7 separate regions of the Homo sapiens genome follow, and all the other regions are linked to region 4. The links are contacts of gene promoters, found by promoter capture Hi-C in blood cells and fetal thymus (Javierre and others, 2016). All regions are on one chromosome and are shown on one strand. The core of a region is centred on a gene start or on the middle of the fragment in contact, and the rest is flanking DNA. Distances in the headings are between cores, read along the strand shown. Region 1 overlaps SPIDR (scaffold protein involved in DNA repair). Region 2 overlaps SPIDR (scaffold protein involved in DNA repair). Region 3 overlaps SPIDR (scaffold protein involved in DNA repair). Region 4 holds the start of CEBPD (CCAAT enhancer binding protein delta). Region 5 overlaps SPIDR (scaffold protein involved in DNA repair). Region 6 overlaps SPIDR (scaffold protein involved in DNA repair). Region 7 overlaps SPIDR (scaffold protein involved in DNA repair).

Evidence for each region. Contacts are between HindIII fragments. The CHiCAGO score rates a contact against its expected background, and 5 or more counts as called.
Region 1: a contact is called between a fragment that was not itself captured here and the fragment with the promoter of CEBPD in region 4, in 6 of 17 cell types (neutrophils, monocytes, M1 macrophages and 3 more). The highest score is 24.6, in neutrophils.
Region 2: a contact is called between a fragment that was not itself captured here and the fragment with the promoter of CEBPD in region 4, in 9 of 17 cell types (neutrophils, monocytes, M1 macrophages and 6 more). The highest score is 17.6, in neutrophils.
Region 3: a fragment that was not itself captured here is called in contact with the fragment with the promoter of CEBPD in region 4 in 7 of 17 cell types (monocytes, M0 macrophages, neutrophils and 4 more); the score reaches 13.1 in monocytes.
Region 5: a fragment that was not itself captured here is called in contact with the fragment with the promoter of CEBPD in region 4 in 11 of 17 cell types (neutrophils, monocytes, M1 macrophages and 8 more); the score reaches 35.2 in neutrophils.
Region 6: a contact is called between a fragment that was not itself captured here and the fragment with the promoter of CEBPD in region 4, in 1 of 17 cell types (monocytes). The highest score is 6.4, in monocytes.
Region 7: a fragment that was not itself captured here is called in contact with the fragment with the promoter of CEBPD in region 4 in 7 of 17 cell types (neutrophils, monocytes, M2 macrophages and 4 more); the score reaches 22.8 in neutrophils.

The regions. Positions count from the first base shown.
Region 1 is chr8:47,285,395-47,288,743 of GRCh38, reverse strand. The region is part of intron 3 of SPIDR (scaffold protein involved in DNA repair); the gene reads right to left. Among named protein-coding and RNA genes, the nearest start is that of SPIDR, 26 kb to the right of the region's middle. The HindIII fragment of the contact is 8,846 bases long and covers 1-3,349 here.
Region 2 is chr8:47,329,185-47,332,504 of GRCh38, reverse strand. All of the region lies in intron 5 of SPIDR (scaffold protein involved in DNA repair), which reads right to left. Among named protein-coding and RNA genes, the nearest start is that of SPIDR, 70 kb to the right of the region's middle. The HindIII fragment of the contact is 1,353 bases long and covers 1,300-2,652 here.
Region 3 is chr8:47,363,278-47,366,269 of GRCh38, reverse strand. The region is part of intron 5 of SPIDR (scaffold protein involved in DNA repair); the gene reads right to left. All of the region lies in intron 1 of LOC107986940 (a long non-coding RNA gene), which reads left to right. Among named protein-coding and RNA genes, the nearest start is that of SPIDR, 100 kb to the right of the region's middle. The HindIII fragment of the contact is 1,554 bases long and covers 652-2,205 here.
Region 4 is chr8:47,736,867-47,739,852 of GRCh38, reverse strand. It overlaps CEBPD (CCAAT enhancer binding protein delta), which reads left to right and starts at 1,689. Exons shown (of 1, transcript NM_005195.4): 1 at 1,689-2,940. The coding sequence starts at 1,733. The coding sequence ends at 2,542. RefSeq lists silencers at 861-1,330, 1,421-1,500, 1,541-1,650, 2,141-2,330 and an enhancer at 1,727-2,665. The HindIII fragment of the contact is 19,422 bases long and covers 1-2,986 here.
Region 5 is chr8:47,311,948-47,315,245 of GRCh38, reverse strand. The region is part of intron 5 of SPIDR (scaffold protein involved in DNA repair); the gene reads right to left. Among named protein-coding and RNA genes, the nearest start is that of SPIDR, 53 kb to the right of the region's middle. The HindIII fragment of the contact is 5,254 bases long and covers 1-3,298 here.
Region 6 is chr8:47,347,102-47,350,071 of GRCh38, reverse strand. All of the region lies in intron 5 of SPIDR (scaffold protein involved in DNA repair), which reads right to left. Among named protein-coding and RNA genes, the nearest start is that of SPIDR, 88 kb to the right of the region's middle. The HindIII fragment of the contact is 543 bases long and covers 1,323-1,865 here.
Region 7 is chr8:47,265,796-47,268,836 of GRCh38, reverse strand. The region is part of intron 1 of SPIDR (scaffold protein involved in DNA repair); the gene reads right to left. Among named protein-coding and RNA genes, the nearest start is that of SPIDR, 6.4 kb to the right of the region's middle. The HindIII fragment of the contact is 3,553 bases long and covers 1-3,041 here.

The sequences.
Region 1 (3,349 bases), core at 243-2,742, 450 kb after region 4:
CCTATTGTTCACGTTATAAAAGGAAAAATAAACTATTCAGAATATTCTAAGAATCTATATCTATCTAAATAGCTAATAAAATAAACTGAGTACTTGCAAAAGACATTATCAATCTCTATCATTATTATGCATCTGAAAAATAAGTCAAGAAGGAAGTTATCAGCAGGGAGCGGTGGCTCACGCCTGTAATCCTAGACTTCGGGAGGCCGAGGTGGGTGGATCACGAGGTCAGAAGTTCAAGACCAGCCTGGCCAAGATGGTGAAACCCCATCTCTACTAAAAATACAAAAAATTAGCCAGGCATGGTTGTGGGCACCTGTAATCCCAGCTACTCGGGAGACTGAGGCAGAGAATTGCTTGAACCCAGGAGGCAGAGGTTGCAGTGAGCAGAGATCACACCACTGTACTCTAGCCTGGGTGACAGAGTGAGACATTATCTCAAAAAAAAAAAAGAAGGAAGTTATCACTATTTGCAAATTATGAAATGAATTCATGGAAAAGTCAAGAAACCAACTGAAAAATTACTACCGTTAATAAGGAAGTCCAATAAAGGTGGCAAGGTACAAACTACAATACAGAAATCAAATTTAAAGCAGTAGCAAAAACCAATAAAATACCTACAAGAAACTTAAGTGTTGCAGGAAGTCAGGGACCCCGAACAGAGGGACGAGCTGGAGCCACCGCAGAGGAACATAAATTATGTAGATTTCATTTTAATATGGACATATATCAGTTCCCAAAATTAATACTTTTACAAGTTCTTTACTTCAATCTCTGAACATAAATTGTGAAGATTTCATTTTAATATGGACCTTTATCATTCCCCAAATAATACTTTTATAATTTCTTATGCCTGTCTTTACTCTCTTAATCCTGTTATCTTCATAAACTGAGAATGTACATCACCTCAGGACCACTATCGTGTTAAACTGTACAAATTGATTGTAAAATGTGTGTTTGAACAATATGAAATCAGTGCACCTTGAAAAAGAACAGAATAACAGCGATTTTCAGGGAACAAGGGAAAACAACCATAAGGTCTGATGGCCTTTGGGGTCAGGCAGAATACAGCCATATTTTTCTTCTTGCAGAGAGCCTATAAACGGACATGCAAGTAGGGAAGATATTGCTAAATTCTTTTCCCAGCAAGGAATATTAATAATTAATACCCTGGGGAAGGAATGCATTCCTGGGGGGAGGTCTATAAACGGCCACTCTGGGAGTGTCTGTCTTATGCGGTTGGGATAAGAACTGAAATACACCCTGGTCTCCTGCAGTACCCTCAGGTTTATTAGGGTGGGGAAAAAAAATCCACCCTGGTGAATTTGAGGTCAGACCAGTTCTCTGCTCTCCAACCCTGTTTTCTGTTGTTTAAGATGTTTATCAAGACAATATGTGCACAGCTGAACATAGACCCTTATCAGGAGTTTTTGATTTCGCCCTTTGCCTTGTGATCTTTGCTTTGCCCTTTGCCTTGTGATCTTTGCTTTGCCCTTTGCCTTGTGATCTTTATTGGCCTCAGAAGCATGTGATCTTTGTTCTCCTTTTTGCCCTTTGAAGCATGTGATCTTTGTGACCTACTCCCTGTTCGTACACCCCCTCCCCTTTTGAAGTCCTTAATAAAAACCTGCTGGTTTTGTGGCTCAGGTGGGCATCACGGTCCTACTGTTATGTGATGTCACCCCTGGAGGCCCAGCTGTAAAATTCCTCTCCTTGTACTCTTTCTCTTTATTTCTCAGCTGGCCGACACTTAGGGAAAATACAAAGAACCTACGTTGAAATATTGGGGGCGGGTTCCCCCAATACTTAAGAGACATGTAAAACCAAAGTACATGTTTTTAGAAGACTTCAAAAGAACATGAAAGAACAAACAGAAAGATATATACTAAGATTCTGGATGATCTGATCAGAAAAAAATGACCTCTCACTGCCTTGAGGCTGAGCATCTTTTCATAGGTTTGAAAATCATTTATATTTCCTTTTTTGAAAGCAGTTCCTCCATAATCGTTATTTTTGCAATAGTTATCTTTTTCCCCCTAGATTAAGTTCTGATGGTTCTTTATTAGAAAGATCAGCCTTGGTCTGTGACATGAGCCACAGTATTTTCCCTGGTTTTTCTGAATTTTAAATTTTGTGTATGTACATGTAATTTTTTGTAAGCGATGTGGTCTTGCTATGTCACCCAGGATGGACTGCAGCAGCTGTACACAGGCATGATCACAGCACACTGCAGCCCCAAACTCCTGGGCTCAAGTGATCTTCCTGCCACAGCCTCCCAAGTAACTGGGACTACAGACGTATGCCACCCTATCAGACTTATATATGTAATTTTGGCCATGCTGTTTTTCCCTTTATGTTTAGGTGAATTTACCAGCTTTATTCATACAGTTTCTATGTTATGAGTCATTCATTGGAAAGGACTTCCCAAATGTAATGCCTTTTTTCAGCCAGCAGCTGTGGTGCCTGAGACGCACACCCAGGCAGGTGAGCTTCTGAGTCCATGTTCTTAACCATTATGCGTAGCTCTCAAGTCAGAGAGACCTGCAGTTGCTTTCACCATTAGTTTAGTGTGAGTATCTAAGAAAATATGTAACTGTCTGGTGCTTCTGTACCATCTAATTTAAAAGACAGGATAATCATTAGTTATGTCATTCAAAACCTCAGAGACCAGGACTCTAGATTTATAAACCCATGAATTATAGGCACCTGACTGCACAACTAGGTAGTTAAAATCACTACCAGGAATTGATTAGTAACTCATTTCACTTGCTGTAAAGAGGGTGTCCTTGATATCAAGGCTCATTCCAATGGAACCGTAGGATAAATATTAGCCACACTGAACATTTCTGGGTGCCCACTGTGTGCTAGGCACTGTCCTAGCACCTGGTGTTATGAGCTGAACTGTGTCCCCCCCCACCAAAATTCAAATGTTGAAGTCCTAACCTTCTGTACCTCAGAATGTGACTTTATTTGAAGACATGGTCTTCAAAGAGGTAATCAAATTCAAATAAGGTCATTAGGGTGGGCCTTAATCCAAGATGACTGAAATCCTTATAAGGTGAAATCTGGACACAAAGACAGACATGCACAGAGAAGACAATGTGAAGAGACCTGGGGAAGAGAGAGAGGAAGAAGGCAATCATCTACAAGCCAAGGAGAGAGGTCTAGAACAGATACTGAAGTATTAGTTTAAGACATCCTATTAACAAAAATTCCAAGATAAAAATTCTATACTACATTTTGGGTGAGGAAGTAGTATTTTTATGACAGCTGGGAAGCAGAATCAGGAACATGCTTTTGTAATGTGTGCCTAAGGTCAGAGGCTTGTCTCTGCCAACAGCTTCTGCAA
Region 2 (3,320 bases), core at 727-3,226, 410 kb after region 4:
CCAAATGAGTATAAATCATGCTGCTATAAAGACACATGCACACGTATGTTTATTGCGGCATTATTCACAATAGCAAAGACTTGGAACCAACCCAAATGTCCAACAATGATAGACTGGATTAAGAAAATGTGGCACATATACACCATGGAATACTATGCAGCCATAAAAAATGATGAGTTCATATCCTTTGTAGGGACATGGATGAAATTGGAAACCATCATTCTCAGTAAACTATCGCAAGAACAAAAAACCAAACACCGCATATTCTCACTCATAGGTGGGAATTGAACAATGAGATCACATGGACACAGGAAGGGGAATATCACACTCTGGGGACTGTGGTGGGGTCGGGGGAGGGGGGAGGGATAGCATTGGGAGATATACCTAATGCTAGATGACACATTAGTGGGTGCAGCGCACCAGCATGGCACATGTATACATATGTAACTAACCTGCACAATGTGCACATGTACCCTAAAACTTAGAGTATAATAAAAAAAAAAAAAAAAAAAAAAGAGAAAAAAAAAAAAAAAAAAAAAGTTTAAAAAAATTTTTTAAATAGAAAAAAGCTGACAGAATATATAAGCTGAGATCACGCCACTGCACTCCAGCCTGGACAACAGAGACTCTCTCTCAAAAAAAAATACTTCTGTACAGCTGAACAATATGTTTATGTTTTAAGCTAAGTGTTATTACAAAAGAGCTATTACAAAGTGGTATTACTAAAGAGTCAAAAAGTGAAAAAAATGAAGAAGAAGTAAAAACGTTACAGTAAGCTAAGATTAATTTATTATTGAAGAAAGAAAATTTTTAAAAATAAGTTTAGTGTAGTCTAAGTGTACTATGTTTATAAAGTTGATAGTAGTGTATGGTAATGTCCTAGGCCTTCACATTCACTCAACACTCACTCACTGACTCACCCAGAGCACCTTTCAGTTCTACAAGCTCCATTCATGGTAAGTGCCCTATACATGTATACCACTGTTTATCTTTTATGCCATATTATAATGTACCTTTTCTATGCTTAGATACATAAATAACTACCTTTGTGTTCCAATTGTCTACAGTATCCAGTACAGTAAAATGCTATAAAGGTTTGCAGCCTAGATATAGGCTTAACCATATAGTGTAGGTGTGTAGTAGACTAAACCACCTAGGTTTGAGTAAGAACACTCTATGATGTTCGCACAAGGACAAAATCACCTAATAATGACACATTTCTTCAGGATGTATTCTGATCACTAAATGACATCTGACTGCTTTAAAAAAGAAAAATGATCAAAATCAATAATCTAAGCTTTACCTTAGAAACTAATAATTGGCCAAAAGCCTTAACAGATATCTCTCCAAAGAAGATACAGATACAGATGGCAAATAAGTACAAGAAAAGATGCTCCACATCATATATTACCAGAGAAATGCAAATTTAAACAACACTGAGATATCATGACATACTTACTAGAATGGCTAAAATTCCTAACACTGACACCACCAAATGCTGACAAGAATATGGAGCAACAGGAACTCTTTTGCTGGTGGGAATGCAAAATGTTACAGCCACTTTGGAAGACAGTTTGGCAGTTTCTTATAAAACTAAAAATACTCTTACCAATACAATCCAATAGTTGCTCTGCTTGGTATCTACTCAAAGGAGTTGAAAGTTTATCTCCACACGGAAACTTCCAAATGTATGTTTATAGCACCTTCAATCATAATTGCCAAAACCTAGAAGCAACCCAGATGTCTCTTGGTAGATGAATGGATAAAGTGTTATATCCAGACAATGGAACATAATTCAGTGCTGAAAAGAAATAAGTTATCAAGCTATGAAAAGACATGGAGGAAAGTTCAATACATATTACTAAGTGAAAGAAGGCACTCCAAAAAAGCCATACTATATGATTCCAACTGTATGACATTCTGGATAAGGCAAAACTATAGAGATGGTAAAAAGATCAGTGGTTTCGAGAGATTAGGGTGGAGAGAATGATTACTAGGCAGAGCACAGAGGATTTTTAGTGCAGTGTCACTGCTCTGTATGACATAATGGTAGACATATATTTTTATACATTTGTTCAAACTCACAGAATATACAACGCCAAGAATTAACCCTGATAGAAACTAGTGACTTTGCGTAAGAAAGATGTGTATACACGGGTTCATCAACTGTAACAAATATACCATTCTGGTGGGGGATATGTTGATAATAGGAAAGCTATGCATATGTGGGGGAGGGAATTATGGGATACCTCTGTACCTTCCTTTCAGTTTTTCTGTAAAACTAAAGATGCTTTAAAAAAAAAAAGCACCTTAAGAAAAGCACCACCACCAAAAAAATGAAGGCATGATAAATACATTTTTAGATAAACAAAAACTGATTATTGCTTGCAGACCCACCTGATAAAATATACACACAGAATTTCTTAAGGCTGAAGGAAAGTGACCTAAGAATCCACACAAGTCCACATGAAAAATCTGGGTGTCAGTAAAAGTAATTATCTAATTAAAACTCAGCATATGTGCGTATTTGTTTTCTTAGCTGATTTTAAAAAACTGCACAAAATATGTACGTAATTGTACTATTGTACCTATAACATATAGAAATGTCATATATCTGTGAGTAACAGAAGAGTGGTGGGTGGGAACAAAGCTTTACCAAACTAAGGAAACACCACCAGATGGTAACAGGATTCCATAGGAACCAATGAAGAGAACAAAAAATGGTAAATAAGAAGGGTCATCTAACACTATAAACGTATACTTGCTCTCCTTTCTTTTCCCTTCTATAAAAGACAAAATTATACTAATAATTATAACAGATACAATATGTATAACAATAATAGCATAAAAAGGAGGAAGAGAAAGTAGAGCCATATAGTGGTAATGTTTCTATGCGTGACTGGCATAAAACTAGTAACAAATCTAAGGAAGATTTGGTTGAGATGTACCTGATAAGCACTAAAGCAACCCATGAAATCTCACTCAAAAACATATTGTAGGCTGGGTACAGTGGCTCACACCTGTAATACAACACGTTGCGAGGCCAAGGTGGACAGACCACTTGAGGCTAGGAGTTAGAGACCAGCCTGGCCAACATGGTGAAACCCTGTCTCTACAAAAAAATACAAAAATTGGGTCGGGCGCGGTGGCTCACGCCTGTAATCCCAGCACTTTGGGAGGCTGAGGCGGGCGGATCATGAGGTCAGGAGATCGAGACCATCCTGGCTAACACGGTGAAACCCCATCTCTACTAAAAATACAAAAAAATCAGCCGGGCGTGGTGGCGGGTGCCTGTAGTCCCAGCTACTCGGGAGGCTGAG
Region 3 (2,992 bases), core at 179-2,678, 370 kb after region 4:
CCGTCATCCAATGCCACACCACACCCTCAGTCCCTGGGACGCCTCACCTTCTGACCCCACCTTCAGCCTCTGTTCAGCTGCTCTCTCAGGCAGACACACCCAAGCAGGGAACGGTCAGCTCCAAAAAGACGTCTCATCACTCTCATCTGCAACTTACTTGCTGTCCTCTGACCTATACCACCTGGTTTTATCTTTACCTTGCTTTGGCTTCATGTCTTTTTTTTAATAGGTACATTTTACCTTTCCCACTGTATCAGGAACTCTGTGTGTTTGTGTGTGTGTGTGTGTGTGTGCTTGTGCATGTATGTGTAAACATACATATTTTTTCTTATCCCATAGCATTTATGCAGCACACACAAGAAATTAAATGCATTTTGCTTTTCTTTTTTCTCACAATCCAATCTGCACTTCCTGTCCTGACCTTTCACCTATTTTTATAATCTCTTTATCTTTACTTGCCTGGAAGAAGTCTTTAGAATAGAGGTTAATAAAATAGGTCATCCACCCTTGCCTCTGCATGAATGAATTAACAGCATAAATAACAGCCCAGAGGCATAGAAAAGTACATTTATTTCATGTTTCAATTAAATAAAATTTAAAACTCTTAAAACAGGAGTAAACAAAAAATTCTAGGAAAAAGGTCAAGAAGCTTTAATGCAGGAAAAGGAACAGAACTTGGAAAATGTGCATTTTCACATGCAAAAGATGGGAAACAATCTGAAAGTCCGCCTAGAGAGGACAGCTAAACAGATGAGGGTACTGCCATGCAATGCAAGGCTGCACACCATGGGGGTTAAAAAAGAAACCTTCCCATGTTGCTCGGAAAGACCCGAGGCATGCTAAGATGTGCATGGGTCTCCTGAGCAGTTGTGGAACTTGCTGCCATGTGTCTATAAAGGGCAGGCAACATATCTTCAAAAACATTTATTTAAGTCTCTGGAAGAACACAATAATGATGTTTGCCGATAGGGAAAGGTAAATGGGGACAGGTGTGAGGAGGCTTCCATCCTTTCTCATGCCACTTGGACCACGTGAATGTGGAAGGTGGCCAGGGAGACCCTCTCTGCAAGTCCAGGAATAGGGCGGATTCACCCACAGATTGTTATAAAGTTCAATGTCCAGGAAGGAGCTTGATGCCTCCAAAGGAAAAACACATGTATGTCTTTGCCTGTTCTAGGTTCTCTGGCAGAAGGAAACAAGCCATGCAGGTCTTACTCTCCAAAATACTTGCAGACTCCTTTTGCTACAGATGCTGTGCTGTACATGCACAGAGAAGCACAAGTTGTAATGGCCACAGGCTTGCTGTGGGGAAGACGGAGGGCAGCAGCAGGGTTCTGCCAGGGCACCCACACATGACGGGGCATAAAGGCCCATCCATCTGCTACCTGCCTCCATGCATGCAGGGAAAGTCAGGAAAATCACCTGAGACTCCACAGGATTTACAGATTCAAGACAAGGTCTGATTACAAACTCAGAAAAAAGGTAATGATTACAGGCAAATCTGCTTTTTAACAGACTTTTTTTTGGATTATCAGGCTGGCATTATCAGAAAATGCCACCGAAAAGACTTCCTGAAAAACATAGTATTTAAAAACCTCAAATCATAGTAAGATTTGCTGCAACTGAAAGAAACCAAATGAACATTGGATATATTCCAAATGAGAATTCTATTTGTGAACTGAAGAAAAACTGGGGCCTGCCAAACTGATAATTAAACAACTGCGCACCCCGAACCAACTAGTGGAATGACTCCCTCCTTCTGGGGTAGGTTCGTCACACCTTACATACTGAAAAACAAAACTTGCATTGAAGCTCTGCATCAAAAACACTTCTTGGAACAAGAGCCAGGGTTCTTTTGATTACTTTTGACCCAAATTAGGCCAACACGATGGCAGTAACTCTCCAGGTGAACTTCAGCTGGGAGCTACCAGGAGGCTCCAGCTGCAGAATACAGGTCAAGGACACAGAAGGGACCAAAGGAACATCGACTCATAGTAACCCTGGCTTGCTGTCCAAGAAGGCAGAAGCCCTGTGAGAGTCTAGAAGAGGCTGAGGTCAGTTTCAAGCCTATACAGGATTAAATGTGACCAGTTACTGTTCTAGGCAAAATGTACAAAATACTTTCATCAAGAACCAAACGTTTTATTTCCTATTTAGCTGAAGAATTAATACTTTTACAGAAGCAATGAGTGAGCACAAAAAGCTTATTTTCCCATTCTCCATGTTCTCTCCTGAAACAATGATCCAAGTGTATTTAGAACAAAGAATCCTACCTTCAAATGAGTGTAGACCCTCTACAGGGGTATCTACCACGTTCCTTCATGTCCCCAAAATAGCTCATAGACCTTGCTAGAAGAGAGTGATGTGATTTTCCTTACCTACCACCAAAATGAAAGAGAGAGAGACAGAGAGAGAAAAAAAAAAAAAACCTACAGAACAGAAAAACCACCTAGATACCACTCTGGTAGCTGGCCACCACACCCTCCTAACTAGAACGTGAGCTCAGGGGTCCCCAAACTGAACTGTAGTATAGAGCACAGTTCAGTTCTATGGATGGCAAAATCAGAAAGGGAGTATTTTTTTTAAAATATCATTTCGATAACATAAATAACTGTTCACTACGGTTCCAAACATAAGCATTGTGGAAAGTAGCTATCCAACAAGCTTCCTCCCCAGAGATCACTGCCAGAGCCTGGGGCGGGAAGAAGGGAAACTAGGAGAGTGAAGAGTCTGAAATACTCTTTGACCTAATTTTTTTTTTTTTTTTTTAAAAAAGGTTGGGCGTGGTAGCTCACGCCTGTAATCTCAGGCTGAGGTGGGTGGATCTAGAGGTCAGGAGATCGAGACCATTCTGGCTAACACAGTGAAACCCCATCTCTACTAAAAATACAAAAAAATTAGCCGGGAGTAGCGGCGGGCGCCTGTAGTCCCAGCTACTTGGGAGGCTGAGGCAGGAGAATGGTGTGAACCCGGGAGGCACAGCTTGCAGCAA
Region 4 (2,986 bases), core at 440-2,939:
GAGGCCTGCGCAGGAAGAGACTCGACATGGAGCAGGTGTGACTAGCGATAGTGATTTAATGGATTTGGGCCCGACATGGTGGCTCACGCCTGTAATCCCAGCACTTTGGGAGGCTGAGGCCGGCGAATCTCTTAAGCCCAGGAGTTTGAAACCAGCCTGGACAATATTGTGAGATCCCATCTCAATTTTTTTTTTGAGATGGAGTCTCGCTCTGTCGCCCAGGCTGGAGTGCAATGGAACGATCTCGGCTCACTGCAACCTCCGCCTCCCGGGTTCAAGCGATTCTCCTGCCTCAGCCTCCCGAGTAGCTGGGATTACAGGCGCACGCCACTACGCTTGGCTAATTTTTGTATTTTTAGTAGAAATGGGGTTTCACCATGTTGACCAGGCTGGTTTCAAACTCCTGACCTCAAGTGATCCGCCCACCTCAGCCTCCCAAAATGCTGGGATTACCGGCATGAGCCACTGTGCTCGGCTGAAAAAAACCATATTTTTAATTTAAAATAATAAATGGGTCTGACCAGAAATGCCTGCCTCAAATTGCAGGACACATGACAAAGCCCATTCTTACTTAAGACATTTTCAGTGTGCGATGGGTCTACCGGGATGTAACCCCATCGTGAGTCGAGGCCCATCTGCACCCTGCTATAGCTACTGGTAGATCTTACCTGTTTCCCAAAAAGGACCCAACTACTTTAGGTTCAAGGCACTTTTTTGGAATATTTAACAGGGAAAGAGCCTGGAACTAAAAACAGGTCTAACGCAAGATGCCGCCACACGATGGCACTGCTTCCGTAGACCTGGAAGAAACGCGGGCGCGGGAGCTGGCGGCGGACGCCCGGGTCTGCGGGGTCGGGGAGTAGCGTCCGGCCGGAGAGCCCGCACCTCGAGGAGCCGGCGGAGGACGCGGTGTCGTGACCGCGTCTCCCCCATCTGCTCTGCTTTTGGCGACAGCGTCCCGTCGGCCTTTCGGCCAGGACGCAGCAGCCGCGTCTCTGGGCCTCGACCCCCAGGGCCGGCCGGACCCGGGACCTCCGAGGAGAGCAGCGAGAACCGGCCCGGATTCCCCGAGGCGCCCGAGTGCGGTGCGGGCAGCCCTCCCCGCCTGCCAGGCCGCCGCTGTCCCCACGTCTGGTCCCCCACGCCTCTTCCCGCATCTGGTCCCACGGTGGAGGCGCGGGGCGAGGGCCTCACGCGCGTGCCCACGGTCGGGGGGCGTCCTTGGACGCGCGGGTCCTCTCCCACGGGTCTCCACCCCCCGCCCTCCGGCGACAGGAGCCGGCCTGGGACGCGCGCGCTGCGGCCAAGTCCTGGTTTTGATTTCACTCCCAACCCCGAGGAGCGAGGAGGTTCCAAGCCCACAAACAGGAAGAAGAGAAGGCCCTGGAGTGCTGGCAGAGGGAGTGTCATTCCCAGCAGCGCAGCGCAGGCCGGCCCGGGCCGGGGAGGGAGCAGCAGCGCGGGCACCCTCCTGCAACGTGGGCTGGGGGTCCCCAGGGCCGGGGAGGGGGCCCCGGGGAGGAACTGAGAGGGGGCGCGCCCCGGGAAGGCTCGGGGCGGCTCCGGGGGGCTCCCAGGGCGCCCCCGCCCCTTCCCCCGCGGCCCCGGGGCGCCCCCGCGGTGCCGGAGTCGGGGCGGGGCGTGCACGTCAGCCGGGGCTAGAAAAGGCGGCGGGGCTGGGCCCAGCGAGGTGACAGCCTCGCTTGGACGCAGAGCCCGGCCCGACGCCGCCATGAGCGCCGCGCTCTTCAGCCTGGACGGCCCGGCGCGCGGCGCGCCCTGGCCTGCGGAGCCTGCGCCCTTCTACGAACCGGGCCGGGCGGGCAAGCCGGGCCGCGGGGCCGAGCCAGGGGCCCTAGGCGAGCCAGGCGCCGCCGCCCCCGCCATGTACGACGACGAGAGCGCCATCGACTTCAGCGCCTACATCGACTCCATGGCCGCCGTGCCCACCCTGGAGCTGTGCCACGACGAGCTCTTCGCCGACCTCTTCAACAGCAATCACAAGGCGGGCGGCGCGGGGCCCCTGGAGCTTCTTCCCGGCGGCCCCGCGCGCCCCTTGGGCCCGGGCCCTGCCGCTCCCCGCCTGCTCAAGCGCGAGCCCGACTGGGGCGACGGCGACGCGCCCGGCTCGCTGTTGCCCGCGCAGGTGGCCGCGTGCGCACAGACCGTGGTGAGCTTGGCGGCCGCAGGGCAGCCCACCCCGCCCACGTCGCCGGAGCCGCCGCGCAGCAGCCCCAGGCAGACCCCCGCGCCCGGCCCCGCCCGGGAGAAGAGCGCCGGCAAGAGGGGCCCGGACCGCGGCAGCCCCGAGTACCGGCAGCGGCGCGAGCGCAACAACATCGCCGTGCGCAAGAGCCGCGACAAGGCCAAGCGGCGCAACCAGGAGATGCAGCAGAAGTTGGTGGAGCTGTCGGCTGAGAACGAGAAGCTGCACCAGCGCGTGGAGCAGCTCACGCGGGACCTGGCCGGCCTCCGGCAGTTCTTCAAGCAGCTGCCCAGCCCGCCCTTCCTGCCGGCCGCCGGGACAGCAGACTGCCGGTAACGCGCGGCCGGGGCGGGAGAGACTCAGCAACGACCCATACCTCAGACCCGACGGCCCGGAGCGGAGCGCGCCCTGCCCTGGCGCAGCCAGAGCCGCCGGGTGCCCGCTGCAGTTTCTTGGGACATAGGAGCGCAAAGAAGCTACAGCCTGGACTTACCACCACTAAACTGCGAGAGAAGCTAAACGTGTTTATTTTCCCTTAAATTATTTTTGTAATGGTAGCTTTTTCTACATCTTACTCCTGTTGATGCAGCTAAGGTACATTTGTAAAAAGAAAAAAAACCAGACTTTTCAGACAAACCCTTTGTATTGTAGATAAGAGGAAAAGACTGAGCATGCTCACTTTTTTATATTAATTTTTACAGTATTTGTAAGAATAAAGCAGCATTTGAAATCGCCCCTGCTTCCTATATTCGCAGTGACTCCCGCCCGCCCGCCGGTGGC
Region 5 (3,298 bases), core at 719-3,218, 420 kb after region 4:
GCCCATGATATTCTACAAATGTCAGTTAGGTCAAGGTGGCTGAAGTATTTTTACAGATCTTCTATATTCTAACTGATTTTTTGTCTAGGTTTTCTATAAGTTACAGAGTAGTGTTAAAATTTCCACCTATGACTGTAGATCTTATTAGGTATATACAAATTTATGATTACTATGTATTTCTAATGAGTTTTATCACTATGAAATGCCCTTCTTTATCTCCAGTACTGTCTTGAAGTCTACTTATCTAATATTAATATAACAACTCCATCTTATACTTACTGTTTGCATGCTACACCTTTCCTCATACATTTACTTTCAATCTATCTGTGTCATTATTTTTAAAATGCATCTCTGGTAGACAGAATACAGGAAGTCTTGTTTTCTATCCAATGTATGAATCTCTACCTTCAAATAAAACACTTAATCTATTTTCAATTAAGGTAATTATTCATAGACCTGACCTAGGTTTGTAAGTTTGCTATTTGTTTTCTTTACATCCTGATATGGTTTGGCTGTGTCTCCACCCAAATCTCATCTTGAATTGTAGTTCCCATAATCCTCACACGTCGTGGAAGGGACCTGGTGGGAGGTAACTGCATCATGGAGCAGTTACCCTCATGCTATTCTCGTGATAATGAGTGAGTTCTAAGGAGATCTGATGGTTTTATAAGGGGCTTTCCCCCAACTTTGCTCTCATTCTGTTCCTTGCTGCCACCCTGTGAAGGACATGTTTGCTTCCCCTTCCTCCATGATTGTAAGTTTCCTGAGGCCTCCCCAGCCATGCTGAACTGGGTCAATTAAACCTCTTTCCTTCATAAATTACCCAGTTTCGAGTATGTCTTTATTAGCAGTATGAGAACAGACTGACACACATCTCATTTGTTTTATATTCTGCTGTTCCTTCCTTTATACCTTTTTTCATTTTCTCTAAATACATTTCAGAATTCCATTTTGACTTCTCTTGTTTTTTAGTTATCACCTCTTTGCATTTTTTTCTTTTCCAGTGTTTGTTCTAGGAATTATAATGTATATCTTTAACTTTGCAGTGTACTTAAAGCTAATTCTACCCCTTCATAAAATAAAGACCACAGTAAGCACACAGCTCCATCAACCTAGACTCATCCTTTATACACAGCAGTCATATATAAATGCCATATTGTAACATTATAATTTCTGCTTTAAACAGTCACAACTGTATATTTCTTAATGGAGTGGGGAAGACTTACATTTTTACCAATTGCAGTGCTCTTCATTCCTGAAGTTCTGAGTTTCAGCTGGTAACACTTTCCTTCAGCTTGAAGTATCTCCTTAAACATTTCTTGTAGTATAAAGATTTTCTTAGCTAGAAAGTATGTTTTCTTATTTGGCTACAGAATTCTGAGTTGATTTTTATTTTCCCAGTACTTTAAAGGTGTTTATAGCCTGCTGGCCTGCATTATTTCTGATAAGAAGTCAGGTCTGTCAAAGATCAGATGGTTGTAGATATGTGGCATTATTTCTGAGGGCTCTGTTCTGTTCCACTGATCTATATCTCTGTTTTGGTACCAGTACCATGCAGTTTTGGTTACTGTAGCCTTGTAGTATAGTTTGAAGTCAGGTAGCGTGATGCCTCCGGCTTTGTTCTTTTGGCTTAGGATTGACTCGGCAATGCGGGCTCTTTTTTGGTTCCATATGAACTTTAAAGTAGTTTTTTCCAATTCTGTGAAGAGAGTCATTGGTAGCTTGATGGGGATGGCATTGAATCTATAAATTACCTTGGGCAGTATGGCCATTTTCACGACATTGATTCTTTCTACCCATGAGCACGGAATGTTCTTCCATTTGTTTGTATCCTCTTTTATTTCATTGAGCAGTGGTTTGTAGTTCTCCTTGAAGAGGTCCTTCACGTCCCTTGTAAGTTTGGATTCCTAGGTATTTTATTCTCTTTGAAGCAATTGTGAATGGGAGTTCACTCATGATTTGGCTCTCTGTTTGTCTGTTATTGGTCTAGAAGAATGCTTGTGATTTTTGCAAATTGATTTTGTATCCTGAGACTTTGCTGAAGTTGCTTATCAGCTTAAGGAGATTTTGGGCTGAGATGATGGTGTTTTCTAGATATGCAATCATGTCATCTGCAAACAGAGACAATTTGACTTCCTCTTTTCCTAATTGAATACCCTTTATTTCCTTCTCCTGCCTGACTGCCCTGGCCAGAACTTCCAACACTATGTTGAATAGGAGTGGTGAGAGAGGGCATCCCTGTCTTGTGCCAGTTTTCGGGAAAGGATTCCCTATTTAATAAATGGTGCTGGGAAAACTGGCTAGCCATATGTAGAAAGCTGAAACTGGATCCCTTCCTTACACCTTATACACAAATTAATTCAAGATGGATTAAAGACTTAAATGTTAGACCTAAAACCATAAAAACCCTAGAAGAAAACCTAGGCAATACCATTCAGGACATAGGCATGGGGAAGGACTTCATGTCTACAACACCAAAAGCAATGGCAACAAAAGCCAAAATTGACAAATGGGATCTAATTAAACTAAAGAGCTTCTGCACAGCACAAGAAACTACCATCAGAGTGAACAGGCAACCTACAAAATGGGAGAAAATTTTCGCAACCTACCTCATCTGACAAAGGGCTAATATCCAGAATCTACAATGAACTCAAACAAATTTACAAGAAAAAAACAAACAACCCCATCAAAAAGTGGGTGAAGGATATGAACAGACACTTCTCAAAAGAAGACATTTATGCAGCCAAAAAACACATGAAAAAATGCTCACCATCACTGGCCATCAGAGAAATGCAAATCAAAACCATAATGAGATACCATCTCACACCAGTTAGAATGGTGATCATTAAAAAGTCAGGAAACAACAGGTGCTGGAGAGGATGTGGAGAAACAGGAACACTTTTACACTGTTGGTGGGAGTGTAAACTAGTTCAACCATTGTGGAAGTCAGTGTGGCGATTCCTCAGGGATCTAGAACTAGAAATACCATTTGACCCAGCCATCCCATTACTGGGTATATACCCAAAGGACTATAAATCATGCTGCTATAAAGACACACGCACACCTATGTTTACTGCGGCACTATTCACAATAGCAAAGACTTGGAACCAACCCAAATGTCCAACAATGATAGACTGGATTAAGAAAATGTGGCACATATCCACCATGGAATACTATGCAGCCATAAAAAATGAAGAGTTCATGTCCTTTGTAGGGACATGGATCAAACTGGAAACCATCATTCTCAGCAAACTATCGCAAGGACAAAAAACCAAACACCGCATGTTCTCACTCATAG
Region 6 (2,970 bases), core at 345-2,844, 390 kb after region 4:
CTAAAGCTCCCAGCATGAGCGACGCAGAAGACGGGTGATTTCTGCATTTCCAAAGGAGGTACCGGGTTCATCTCACTGGGACTGGCTGGACAGTGGGTGCAGCCCACGGAGTGTGAGCCGAAGCAGGGCGGGGCATCGCCTCACCCAGGAAGCACAAAGGGTCAGGGAATTCCCTTTCCTAGCCAAGGGAAGCCATGACAGATGGTCCCTGGAAAATCGGGACACTCCCGCCCTAATACTGCGCTTTTCCAATGGTCTTAGCAAACAGCACACCAGGACATTACATCCCGCGCCGGGCTCAGTGGGTCCCACGCCCACGGACCCTTGCTCACTGGTAGCACAGCAGTCCGAGATAGAACTGCGAGGTGGCAGCGATGCTGGGGGAGGTGCGACTGCCATTGCTGAGGCTTCAGTAGGTAAACAAACTGGCCAGGAAGCTCGAACTGGCTGGAGCCCACTGCAGCTCAACAAGCCTGCCTGCCTCTGTAGCCTCCACCTCTGGGGGCAGGGCATAGCTGAACAAAAGGCAGCAGAAACTTCTGCAGACTTAAACATCCCTGTCTGACAGCTTTGAAGAAAGCAGTGGTTCTCCTAGAATGGAGTTTGAGATCTGAGAACAGACACACTGCCTCCTCAAGGGGGTCCCTGACCCCCAAGCAGCCTAACTGGGAGACATCTCCCAGTAGGGGCTGACTGACACCTCATACAGCCGGGTGCCCCTCTGAGACGAAGCTCCCAGAGGAAGGATCAGGCAGCAACATTTGCTGTTCTGCAATATTTGCTGTTCTGCAGCCTCCACTGGTGATCCCCAGGCAAACAGGGTCTGGAGTGGACCTCCAACAAACTTCAACAGACCTGCAGCTGAGGGTCCTGTTAGAAGGAAAACCAACAAAGAGACAGGAATAGCATCAACATCAACAAAAAGGACATCCACACTAAAACCCCATCTGTAGGTCACCATCATCAAAGACCAAAGGTAGATAAAACCACAAAGTTGGGGAGAAACCAGAGCAGAAAAGCTGAAAATTCTAAAAACCAGAGGGCCTCTTCCCCTCCAAAGGATCGCAGCTCCTCACGAGCAATCAAATAAAGCTGGACGGAGAATGACTTTGACAAGTTGACAGAAGTAGGCTTCAGAATATCGGTAATAACAAACTTCTCAAAGCTAAAGGAGGATGTTTAAACCCATCGTAAGGAAGCTAAAAACGTTGAAAAAAGATTAGACAAATGGCTAACTAGGATAAATAGCGCAGAGAAGACCTTAAATGAACTGATGGAGCTGAAAGCCACGGCACGAGAACTACGTGACGCATGCACAAGCTTCAGCAGCCGATTCATTGAAGTGGAAGACAGATGACTGAAGATCAAATGAATGAAATGAAGCGAAAAGAGAAGTTTAGAGAAAAAAGAGTAAAAAGAAACGAACAAACCCTCCAAGAAATATGAGACTATGTGAAAACACTAAATCTATGTTTGATTGGTGTACCTGAAAGTTACAGGGAGAATGGAACCAAGATGGAAAACACTCTTCAGCATATTATCCATTATCCAGGAAAACTTCCCCAACTTCGCAAGGCAGGTCAACATTCAAAATCAGAAAATACAGAGAACGACACAAAGATACTCCTCGAGAAGAGCAACTCCAAGACACATAATTGTCAGATTCACCAAGGTTGAAATGAAGGAAAAAATGTTAAGGGCAGCCAGAGAGAAAGGTCAGGTTACGCACAAAGGGAAGCCCATCAGACTAACAGAGGATATCTCGGCAGACACTCTGCAAGTCAGAAGAGAGTGGGGGCCAATATTCAACATTCTTAAAGAAAAGAATTTTCAACCCAGAATTTCACATCCAGCCAAACTAAGCTTCAAAAGTGAAGGAGAAATAAAATCCTTTATAGAAAAGCAAATGCTGAGAGAGTTTGTCACCACCAGGCCTGCCCTAAAAGAACTCCTGAAGGAAGCACTAAACATGAAAAGGAACAACCAGTACCAGCCACTGCAAAAACATGCCAAATTGTAAAGACCATCGAGGCTAGGAAGAAACTGCATCAAATAACGAGCAAAATAACCAGCTAACATCATAATGACGGGATCAAATTCACACCTAACAATATTAAATTTAAATGTAAATGGGCTAAATGCCCCAATTAAAAGACACAGACGAGCAAATTGGATAGAGCCAGGACCCATCAGTGTGCTGTATTCAGGAGACCCAACTCACCTGCAAAGACACACATAGGCTCAAAACAAAGGAACGGAGGAAGATCTACCAAGCAAACGGAAAACAAACAAAAAAAAGCAGGGGTTGCAATCCTAGTCTGATAAAACAGACTTTAAACCAACAAAGATCAAAAGAGACAAAGAAGGCCATTACATAATGGTAAAGGGATCAACAAGAAGAGCTAACTATCCTAAATATGTATGCACCCAATAAAGAAGCACCCAGATTCATAAAGCAAGTCCTTACAGATCTACAAAGAGACTTAAAGACTCCTACTACACAATAATAATGGGAGACTTTAACACCCCACTGTCAATATTAGACAGATCAACGAGACAGAAAGTTAACAAGGATATCCAGGAATTGAACTCAGCTCTGCACCTAGTGGACCTAATAGACATCTACAGAACTCTCCACCCAAAATCAACAGAAAATACATTCTTCTCAGCACCACATCACACTTATTCCAAAATTCACCACATAGTCGGAAGTAAAGCACTCCGCAGCAAATGTAAAAGAACAGAAATCATAACAAACTGTCTCTCAGACCACAGTGCAATCAAGTTAGATCTCAGGATTAAGAAACTCACTCAAAACTGCTCAACTACATGGAAACTGAACAACCTGCTCCTGAATGACTACTGGGTAAATAACAAAATGAAGGCAAAAATAAAGGTGTTCTTTGAAACCAGTGAGAACAAAGACACAACATACCAGAATCTCTGGGACACATTTAAAGCAGTGTGTAG
Region 7 (3,041 bases), core at 263-2,762, 470 kb after region 4:
CCCAAAAAATTATTAGAACCAATAAATGAGTTCAGCAAAGTTGCAGGATACAATCTCAATATTTAAAAAAATCAATGGAGCTGGGTGCGGCTGGCTCATGCCTATAATCCCAGAGCTTTGGGAGGCCAAAACAGGAGCATCCCTTGAGCCCAGGAATTTGAGACCAGCCTGGGCAACACAGCGAGACTCCATCTCTACCAAAAAATTAACAAAAAATATTAGCCACGTGCAGCAGCATGTGCCAGTAGAACTGCATTCAAAATAGCATCAAAAAGAATAAAACTCTTAGGAATAAATTTAACCAAAGAAGTGCAGGACTTTTTCACTGAAAACTGTAAAACATAGATAGAAATTAAAGAAGATCTAAATAAATGAAAAGACAACCCATGCTCATGGGAAATAATATTGTTAAGATGATAATACTCTCCAATTTGTCTATATATTCAACAAAATCAAAATCCCAGATGGCTTTCTGCAGAAATTGACAAGCTGCTATTATTCATATGGAAATGTAATGAACCCAAAACAGTTAAAAAAATCTCAAAACAGAAAACAAGTCAGAAACTCACACTTCTAATTTCAACACTGCCAAGTTACAGTAATTAAAACAGTATGGTACTAGAATAAAGGCAGACATGGAGATCAGTGGAATAGAATTCATAGACCAGAAACAAACCTTTACTTTTATGGTCAACTGATTTTCAATTAAAACAAAAAAGTGCCAAGACAATTCAAGGAGAAAGAACAATTTTTTCAACAAACAGTGTTGAAACAACTGGGTATCCACATCGAAAAGAATGAAGTTGTACCCCTACCTCACAGTGTGTAGAAAAATTAACTCCAAATGAATCACAGACCTAAATGTAAGAGCTAAAACTGTAACTCTTGGAAGAAAACATAGGAATAAATCTTTGTGACCTTGGTTTAGGCAATGATTTATTAGACATGACACCGAAAAGCACAAGAAACAAAAGAAAAAACAAATTGGACCTCATCAAAATTATTAAAAACATTTGTACTTCAATAAGAAAATGAAAAGAAAACCCAAAGAATGAGAGAAAATATCTGCAATCATACATCTTATAGGGGAACAGTATACAGAATTTTAAAGAACTCGTGATTCCACAATAAAACAGCAAATAACCCAATGAAAACGCAGCCAAATAAGCTGAATAAACATTTCTTCAAGAAGATACAGAAATGCCCAATAAGTACATGAAAAGATGCTCAATCTCATTAGGGAACTGCAAACCAAATCACAGTGAGGTAACACTTCATAACCATTAGGATGACTAAAAGTAAAAGACAGGCAATGGCAAGTGTTAGCAAGAATGTGGCAAAATTAGAATGTTCATTCCTTGCTGGTGAGACTGTAAAAGGTGCAACCACTTTGGAAAATTCTAACAGTTATCCAAAATGTAAACATACAGTTATTATGTGACCCAAAAATTCCACTGCTAGAGAAAGAAAAACTTAGGTCTACATAAAAATGCATATACAAATGTTCAACGCAGGCCAGGTGCGATGGCTCACGGATGTAATCCCAACACCTTGAGAAGCTGAGATGGGAGGATCTCTTGAGCCCAGCCAGGAGTTTGAGACCAGCCTGGGCAATATAATGAGACCGGATCTCAATTAAAAAAAAAAGTTCAAAGCAACATTATTCTTAACAGCCCAAAGGTGGAAATAATCCAAATGTCTATCAACTAATAAATGGATTTTTCAAATGCAGTATGTCCATGCAATAAAAAATTTATTCAAAATAAATAGGAATGAAGTACTGATACATGCAACAACATGTATAAACCTGGAAAACATTATTTTTAATGAAAGAAGCCAGTCACAAAATGACCACACTTTATATGAAATGTCCAGAATAGGCAAATCCATACACACCGAAAGTAGCTTAGTGGTTGCCAATGGATGAGGGAAGAGAGAATGGGGAGTGACTGACTAGTAATAGCTATGGGGTTTCTTTTTGGGGTCATGAAAATATTCTACAATTAGGAACATTTGTACAACTCTGTAAATATACTAGAAACCACTGGATTTTCCACTTTAAAAGGGTAGATTTTATTATCTATAAAACTGAATAACAACATTGCCAATGGGACTGCAAAATTATACAGATATAACCACTTTGGAAAAGTTTGTCAGTTTCTTATAGAGTTAAACATCAAATTACCATAGGTTCTGGCAATTACATACTTAGGCATTTATCTCAGAGAAATGAAAACTTATGTTCACACAAAAACCTGTACACAAATGTTTATAGCAGTTTTATTTGCAATAACCAAAACCTGAAAACAGCCTAGAGGTCCTTCAATAATAAATGTTAATCCAAACTCTGGTATATCCATTATATGGAACACTACTCAGCAATTAAAACAAAGAAACTATTGGCCAGGCACAGTGGCTCATGCCTGTAATCCTAACACTTTGAGAGGCCGAGGTGGGTGGATTGCATTGCCTGAGCTCAGGAGTTCAAGACCAGCCTGGGCAACACGGTGAAACCCTGTCTCTACTAAAATACAAAAGATTAGCCAGGCATGGCAGCAGGTGCCTGTAGTACCAGCTACTTGGGAGGCTGACGCAGGAGAATTGTTTGAACTGGGGAGGCGGAAAGTTGCAGTGAGCCGAGATCGCGCTATTGCACTCCAGCCTGGGCAAGAGAGTGAGACTCCAACTCAAAAAAAAAAAAAAAAAAGACAAAGAAACTACTGATATGCACAACAACTTCGATAAATCATGAGAGTTTTATGTTGTATTAAAAAAAAAAAAACTTCAGACCGGGCATGGTGGCTCACGCCTGTCATCCCAGCACTTTGGGATGTCGATGCGGGCAGATCACCTGATGGTATTAGGAGGTGGGGCCTTTGGCAGGTGATTAGAAGTTACGGGATTGATGCCCTTATAAAAGAGACCTTGGAGAGCTCCTTTACCTCTTCCACCATATAAAGACATGGTAAGAATATGGCTGTCTGTGAACCAGAAAGCAGGCCCTCACCAGACATGAAATCTGTCAACACTTTGATCTAGCA